Regions from separate parts of the Homo sapiens genome. Here region 1 is linked to region 2. The links are contacts of gene promoters, found by promoter capture Hi-C in human tissues and cell types (Jung and others, 2019). All regions are on one chromosome and are shown on one strand. The core of a region is centred on a gene start or on the middle of the fragment in contact, and the rest is flanking DNA. Distances in the headings are between cores, read along the strand shown. Region 1 has its middle 5.5 kb from the start of RENO1. Region 2 holds the start of NPLOC4 (NPL4 homolog, ubiquitin recognition factor).

Region 1 (3,406 bases), core at 810-3,309, 290 kb before region 2:
AAGGCTTGGGAACGCTGGGAAGAGGGAGGAAAGAGCCAGAAGGTTAGCGCGAGGCACTCATTCCCTGTAGCTTGACTACTGTTTCCAGAAATTGAGGGCCGGTTTGCAATTAGAGTTACCCCAGAAAGTTGGGACTCCCAGGTTGAAAAAGCCACTGTTTATGCCTCAAACAGTAGGAGAAAAGATGGTGGCTGTTCAAGGCCTGTCACTCAGGCAGCTCAGTCCAACAAAAGTGTGCAGGCCTACGGCAAAGATCAGATGAAGGCTCAGGTTGCGGGGGGAGGGGAGCAGATGGCTTAATGAATCATCTGTCAGTTGGACCCGGAAGACAGTCATCGGGACCCACGGAAAGGCTCTGCCCATCCTAGAGAGGCAGGCTTTGGGCTGGGTCTTCTCCCTGGAGATGATGGTGACTTTTTCTAACACGATGTGTGGAGGAAGGGTGGGTCTCACAGATGTCTGGAGGCCAAGGGCTGGCTGGCTGCCGTCCGGCTGTCCAACAGAAGCCGTTACCCCTTCTCATGGGGCCCCTGGCTGGTCTGCATTCCCAGGCTCCCTCGCAGTAGGTGTGGCTGGGTAACCGTGGTGTCCAACAGAATCTGGCAGAAGCAGTGTGCACCAGTTTCAGGAGCAGGTCACCCTTCCAGGAGGCTTTTAGGGTTCCCCCTTCTGATGGCTGAAATGGGCACATCAGAGAGACTGTGGAAGACAAATGTGCAAGATGACAGGGCAGCCTTCAGCCTGGGGCCCAACCAGGCCCCACCCCGCAGGAGCACTTGCTTGGGCAGGTCAGGGATAAATAAGCCGCGGGCTGGCATGGGCAGCTACGTTTGGGGTCTATTTGCTACAGTTGTGTAACTTGCACTGAGCAAGAGTTTCAGAACACACAGTGTTCAAAAACACCAGTAATAGCTTCAGAGAGAAAAGAGATTTTGTTCTTTAAAAAAAGAATCTGGGGAAGTGAACTCAGATTTTTGCTTCCTTCCTCATAATTTTAGGTAGTATTCAAAAATTTACAAGAAGATTCAGAAATAATAACCAAGAAAACTGCATTCATGTGAACAAATAAAAATAAGCTTTGGGGCTGGGCACAGTGGCTCGCGCCTGTAATCCCAGCATTTTGGGAGGCCAAGGCGGGTGGATTGCTTGAGGTCAGGCATTTGAGACCAGCTTGACCAACATGGTGAAACCCTGTCCCTACTAAAAATACAAAAATGAGCTGGGCGTGGTGGCGGGTGCCTGTAATCCCAGCTACTCAGGAGGCTGAGGCAGGAGAATCACTTGAATCCGGGAGGCAGAAGTTGCAGTGAGCCAGGACTGCGTCATTGCACTCCAACCTGGACAACAAAGTAAGACTCTGTCTCAAAAATTATAAAAAATAAATAGAGGCCGGGCACGGTGGCTCACACTTGTAATCCTGTATCTGGAATTGGTGGGTTCTTGGTCTCACTGACTTCAAGAATGAAGCCGTGGACCGTCACGGTGAGTGTTACAGTTCTTAAAGGCGGCGTGTCTGGAGTTTGTTCCTTCTGATATTCAGATGCGTTCGGAGTTTCTTCCTTCTGGTGGGTTCGTGGTCTCGCTGGCTCAGGAGTGAAGCTGCGGACCTTCGCGGTGAGTGTTACGGCTCTTAAGGCAGCGCGTCTGGAGTTGTCCTTCCTCCCGGTGGGCTCGTGGTCTCGCTGGCTTCAAGAGTGAAGCTGCAGACCTTCGGGGTGAGTGTTACAGCTCATAAAGGCAGTGTGGACCCAAAGCGTGAGCAGTAGCAAGATTTATTGCAAAAAGCGAAAGAACAAAGCTTCCACAGCGTGTAAGCAGACCAGAACAGGTTGGCACTGCTGGCTCGGGCAGCCTGCTTTTATTCTCTTATCTGGCCCCACCCACATCCTGCTGATTGGTAGAGCCCAGTGGTCTGTTTTGACAGGGCACTGATTGGTGTGTTTACAATCCCTGAGCTAGACACAAAGGTTCTCCACGTCCCCACCCGATTAGCTAGATACAGAGTGTCTACACAAAGGTTCTCCAAGGCCCCACCAGAGTAGCTAGATACAGAGTGTCGATTGGTGCATTCACAAACCCTGAGCTAGACACAGGGTGCTGATTGGTGTGTTTACAAAACTTGGACTAGATACAGAGTGCCGATTGGTGTATTTACAATCCCTTAGCTAGACATAAAGTTCTTCAAGTTCCCACTAGACTCAGGAGCCTAGCTGGCTTCACCCAGTGGATCTCGCACTGGGGCTGCAGGTGGAGCTGCCTGCCAATCCCGCGCCGTGCGCCCACGCTCCTCAGCCCCTGGGTGGTCGATGGGACTGGGCGCCGTGGAGCAGGGGGTGGCGCTCGTCGGGGAGGCTCGGGCTGCACAGGAGCCCACGGGTGGGGGGCGCGGGGCGGGGACGGGAGGCTCAGGCATGGCAGGCTGTAGGTCCCAGCTCTGCCCCACGGGAAGGCAGCTAAGGCCTGGCGAGAAATCCAGCGCAGCGCCGGTGCGCCGGCACTGTTGGGGGACCCAGCACACCCTCCGCAGCCGCTGGCCCGGGTGCTAAGCCCCTCATTGCCCGGGGCTGGCAGGGCCGGCCGGCTGCTCCGAGTGCGGAGCCCGCCAAGCCCACGCGGAACTCCAGCTGGCCCGCAAGCGACGCACGCAGCCCCAGTTCCCTCTCGCGCCTCTCCCTCCACACCTCCCCGCAAGCTGAGGGAGCCGGCTCCGGCCTTGGCCAGCCCAGAAAGGGGCTCCCACAGTGCAGCGGCGGGCTGAAGGGCTCCTCAAGTGCCGCCAGTGGGAGCCCAGGCAGAGGAGGCGCCGACAGCGAGCGAGGGCTGTGAGGACTGCCACACGCTGTCACCTCTCAATCGCAGCACTTTGGGAGGCCGAGGCGGGTGGATCACGAGGTCAGGAGATCGAGGCCATCCTGGCTAACACGGTAAAACCCTATCTCTACTAAAAATACAAAAAATTAGCCGGGCGTGGTGGCGGGCGCCTGTAGTCCCAGCTACTTGGGAGGCCGAGGCAGGAGAATGGCGTGAACCCAGGAGGCGGAGCTTGCAGTGAGCCGAGATCGCGTCACTGTACTCCAGCCTGGGTGACAGAGCAAGACTCCGTCTCAAAAATAAATAAATAAATAAATAAAAAATTGGGCTCGTTTGGTTTTGTGGAGTGTTTTGAGACAGGGAGTACAGCAGCAGGGTCACTGTAGTACAGCACAGGAGTCACTGCAGCCTCCACCTCCCAGGGTCACGCAATCCTCCCACCTCAGCCTCCCAAGTAGCTGGGACCAGAGGGTTTGAGCCACTACACCCAGCTAATTTTTCATGTTTGCTTTGTAGAGATGAGGTCTTGCTATGTTTTCCAGGCTGGTCTGAAACTCCTGGCCTCAAGTGATCCTCCCTCCTTGACCTCCCAAAG
Region 2 (3,853 bases), core at 827-3,326:
TGTTTTTAATTAAAAAGATTTAAAGGCCAGGCGCGGTGGCTTATGCCTGTAATCCCAGCATTTTGGTATGCCAAGGCGGGCGGATCACGAGGTCAGAAGTTCGAGATCAACCTGGCCAACACGGTGAAACCCCATCACCACTAAAAATAAAAAAGACATCAGCCATGCGTGTTGGCGAGCACCTGCAACCCCAGCTACTCGGCTGAGGCAGGAGAATTTCTTGAACCCGAGAGGCGGAGGTTGCAGTAAGCAGAGATCGCACCACTGAACTCCAGCCTGGGCGACAGAGTGAGACTCCATCTCAAAAAAATAAAATAAGGTTAAAAAAAAAAAAAAAAAAGGAGTCGACGTTTCCTAAGTTTCTCCTGGGCCATATATTCATTCCACTCATCTCCAGGTTGGGAAACATGGAGGCACCAAGAGGGCCCCTGACTGGAGAGATGATGGAACCACCAGAGAACAGCCTTGCAAATAAGTGCTAGGTTCTCCTGGAGACCCATTTGTTTGTGTGTGTGAGACAGTCTCATTCTGTCGCCCAGGGTGGAGTCCAGTGACGCCACCTAGGCTCACTATGTTGTCCAGGCTGGTCTTGAACTCCTGACCTCAGGTGATCCACCCACCTGGGCTTCCCAAAGTGCTGGGATTACAGGTGTGAGTCACCGCGCCGGGCCTGGAGACCTATTCTAGACAACACCTGGCAAAACTGCAGAGACTGTCACAATGCTACAGTATGAACATTACTCTTCACCCAATACTGCTAAGCTTCCCCCAGAAATCCCAAATCTTCCTTAATATTAACCAAAATGCTCCTGTCCAATGGTCAGTTAGTTTTTTTCCCATCACATTTACTTTTGGGAAGAAACTTCTCACAACTTAACGAGGGACTGGTTTTCTGATTTGTCACTGATATTTTTTACGTTAAGGAGGAGTGTGTGACAATTTTTTTTTTTTTTTTGAGACGCAGTCTCGCTCTATAGCCCAGGCTGGAGTGCCATGGAGGGATCTCAGCTCACTGTAACCTCCACCTCCCGCGTTCAAGCAATTCTCCTGCCTCAGCCTCCCAAGTATCTGGGATTACAGTGCGCCATGACGCCCGGCTAATTTTTTGTATTTTTAGTAGAGACAAGATTTTGCCATGTTGGCCAGGATGGTCTCGAACTCCTGACCCCAGGTGATCCACCCGCCTCGGCCTCCCAAAGTGCTGACATCACAGGCGTGAGCCACTGCGCCGGGCCGACAATTTCAATTTCAGGTAAAAAGTGAAATCAACATCATTTACAACATTCCTTTTAAAGAGGAATTGTCAAGTTGTCCTTCCAAGTAAGGAGCAAAGCCGGCAAGTTACTGTGTTTTCATTTTCCCAGGTCTTCTGGTGGGGAGGGAGCTCTGTAACGTCCCCGTCTGCAGAGCTGCTCTCCTTAGTGACTCATGACAAGGCACTTGCTGGGAAGCGGGAGAGCAGGAGGAGAGAATCAGAGGGAGATTAGGATAAGAGGTGTCCCTGGCTCTGAGAGGGGCAGGACTGGCTGGGAGTCCCTGGAATTAGACCAGGAAGTCTCCTGGAGCCGGGAAACGGGTGGGGAAGGAGGGCGGTTTCTCTTCGCCACAGTCCATTCTCCCTGCTTAGAAAGGCTCGGCCTTTCCCTGCCCAGGGCGGGGAACCGGGGTCGTAAGTCCCCTGGGGAGGGACACGGACGGGAAGCAGCCGAGGGGGGTGAAAGTCCCCGAGAGGGGCCCAGCCACTACAGAGAAAGCCCTGGCGAGAGAAGAGAAAGGGGCCGAGTCGCGGCGCCGGCAGGCCCGCCTCCCCCACAGGCCGAGGCCGGCAAATCTGCTGCCTCATCCCGGCGTCCCCGCTCCCGCCCGGCCGCCGCACTCACGATGCTCTCGGCCATGGCGGCTGCTCCTGCCTCCGGGCTCGAGCCCCGGGCCGCCGCCGCCTGCCGCCCCAAGGGCCTCGCAGACCCGGCCGCGGCCTCAGCCCCGGCCCCGGCCTCCCTACGCCGCCGCCACCGCCGCTCCAGCTTCGCCCGCCCGGCTCCGCCAGCCGCCGACGTCCCGGTGCCTCGCTCAATACGCTCCCCTCGGGCGCGAGGCCGGGAAACCAGGTTCCGGCCCCACCAACGGCTCGACGCATGCGCAGGGCGGCGCCGCTGACCCGCCCCCGCCATCCCTGCAACTGGAGGAGGGGATTTTGGAAAGTTGCGTCTGAGATTACTTCTGCTCGTCCTCGGAAACCCAAGCGGCACAGGAAAGTCCAAAAAGGAAGCAAAGACGAGCATCCGAAGTCTCACCCAAAAATAACTACTGCTGCGTATTATAGCGTATTATAATTGGGGAAACAGCATTCCAAACTTCTCTCCATGCACAGGTAAGTAGAGAAACAATTTCAGGAAGGCAGGATCACACCTTCATGTTTTTTTTTTTAAGTATTTTTTAAATTTAACATAAGAAAAACAAACGAGTTTAAACTGCATTTCAGGCCGGGCGCGGTGGCTCATACCTGTAATCCCAGCATTTTGGGAAGCCAAGGTGGACGGATCACCTGAGGTCAAAAGTTCGAGACCAGCCTGGCCAAAATGGTGAAACCCCGTCTCTACTCAAAATACAAAATTAGGCCATACGCGGTGGCTCACGCCTGTAATCCCAGCACTTTGGGAGGCCGAGGCAGGTGGATCACCTGAGGTCAGGAGTTCAAGACCAGCCTGACCAACGTGGTGAAACCCCGTCTCTACTAAAAATACAAAAATTAACTGGGCGTGGTGGCGGGCACCTGTAATCCCAGCTACTCGGGAGTCTGAGGCCGGAGAATCTCTTGAAGCGAAGAGGCGGAGGTTAGAATGAACTGAGTTGGTGCCACTGCACTCCAGTCTGGGCGACAGAGTGAGACTTCATCTCAAAAAAAAAAAAAAAAGACGTCACTTCACAGATTCTAAGGATTTTTGGAGTTGGATACCAGGAAACCGGAAGACTAAATGTATACATATTTCACAACATCACAATTACTGTGACAGTTTTTTTAAACTATGTTAAATTACATTAATTGATTAAATTATGTTAGTAATTGTATTAGTTTGCTCAGGGTGCCACTGTAACTACCCAACATATTGTCCCTGCCCACTGCCTAGACTTTATCAAGACAGGGGAATTGCAATAAAGAGTTTAATTCACACAGAGCCAGCTTGTACAGGTTACTGAGGTTTTATTACTACTCAAAAAAAATTAGTGTCCTTGAGAATTCAGGGATCAGAGTTTTTTGTTTTTTGTTTTTTTTTGTTTTTGAGTCCGAATCTCACTCTGTCACCCACACTGGAGTGCAGTGGCGCGATCTCGGCTCACTGCAACCTTCACCTCCTGGGTTCCAGTGATTCTCCTGCCTCAGCCTCCCGGGTAGCTGGGACTACAGGCGCACACTACCATGCCTGGCTAATTTTGTATTTTTCGTAGAGACGGAGTTTCTCCATGTTGGTCAGGCTGGTCTTGAACTCCTGACCTCAGGTGATCCGCCCACCTGGGCCTCCCCAAAGTGCTGGGACTATAGACGTGAGCCACCGTGCCCGGCTGGGGATCCGCGGTTTTAAGGATAATTTGGTGGGTATGGGGTCAGAAAGTAGGGAGTGTTGATTGGTTGGGTCAGAGGTGAAATGATAGGGAGTCAAAACTGTCCTCTTGTGCTGAGTCGGTTCCTGGGTGGGGGCCACAAGATATGAGCCAGTTTATCAATCTGGGTGGTGCCAGCTGATCCATGGAGTGCAGAGTCTGCAAAATATCTCAAGCGCTGATCTGTTTTTTAATAGTGATGTTATCCTGAGAAGCAATTTGGGAGGTTTAGAATCTTGTAGCCTCCAGCTAC

The links. Contacts are between HindIII fragments. The study calls those that stand out against the background at their distance.
Region 1: a contact is called between a fragment that was not itself captured here and the fragment with the promoter of NPLOC4 in region 2, in 2 of the 25 tissues and cell types used here (dorsolateral prefrontal cortex and thymus).

Annotation. Positions count from the first base shown.
Region 1 is chr17:81,349,752-81,353,157 of GRCh38, forward strand. No RefSeq gene overlaps it. Among named protein-coding and RNA genes, the nearest start is that of RENO1, 5.5 kb to the left of the region's middle. The HindIII fragment of the contact is 3,176 bases long and covers 472-3,406 here.
Region 2 is chr17:81,635,036-81,638,888 of GRCh38, forward strand. It overlaps NPLOC4 (NPL4 homolog, ubiquitin recognition factor), which reads right to left and starts at 2,077. Exons shown (of 17, transcript NM_017921.4): 1 at 1,881-2,077. The coding sequence starts at 1,895. It overlaps TSPAN10 (tetraspanin 10), which reads left to right and starts at 2,161. Exons shown (of 4, transcript NM_001290212.2): 1 at 2,161-2,371. RefSeq lists a silencer at 1,807-2,016. The HindIII fragment of the contact is 41,196 bases long and covers 1-3,853 here.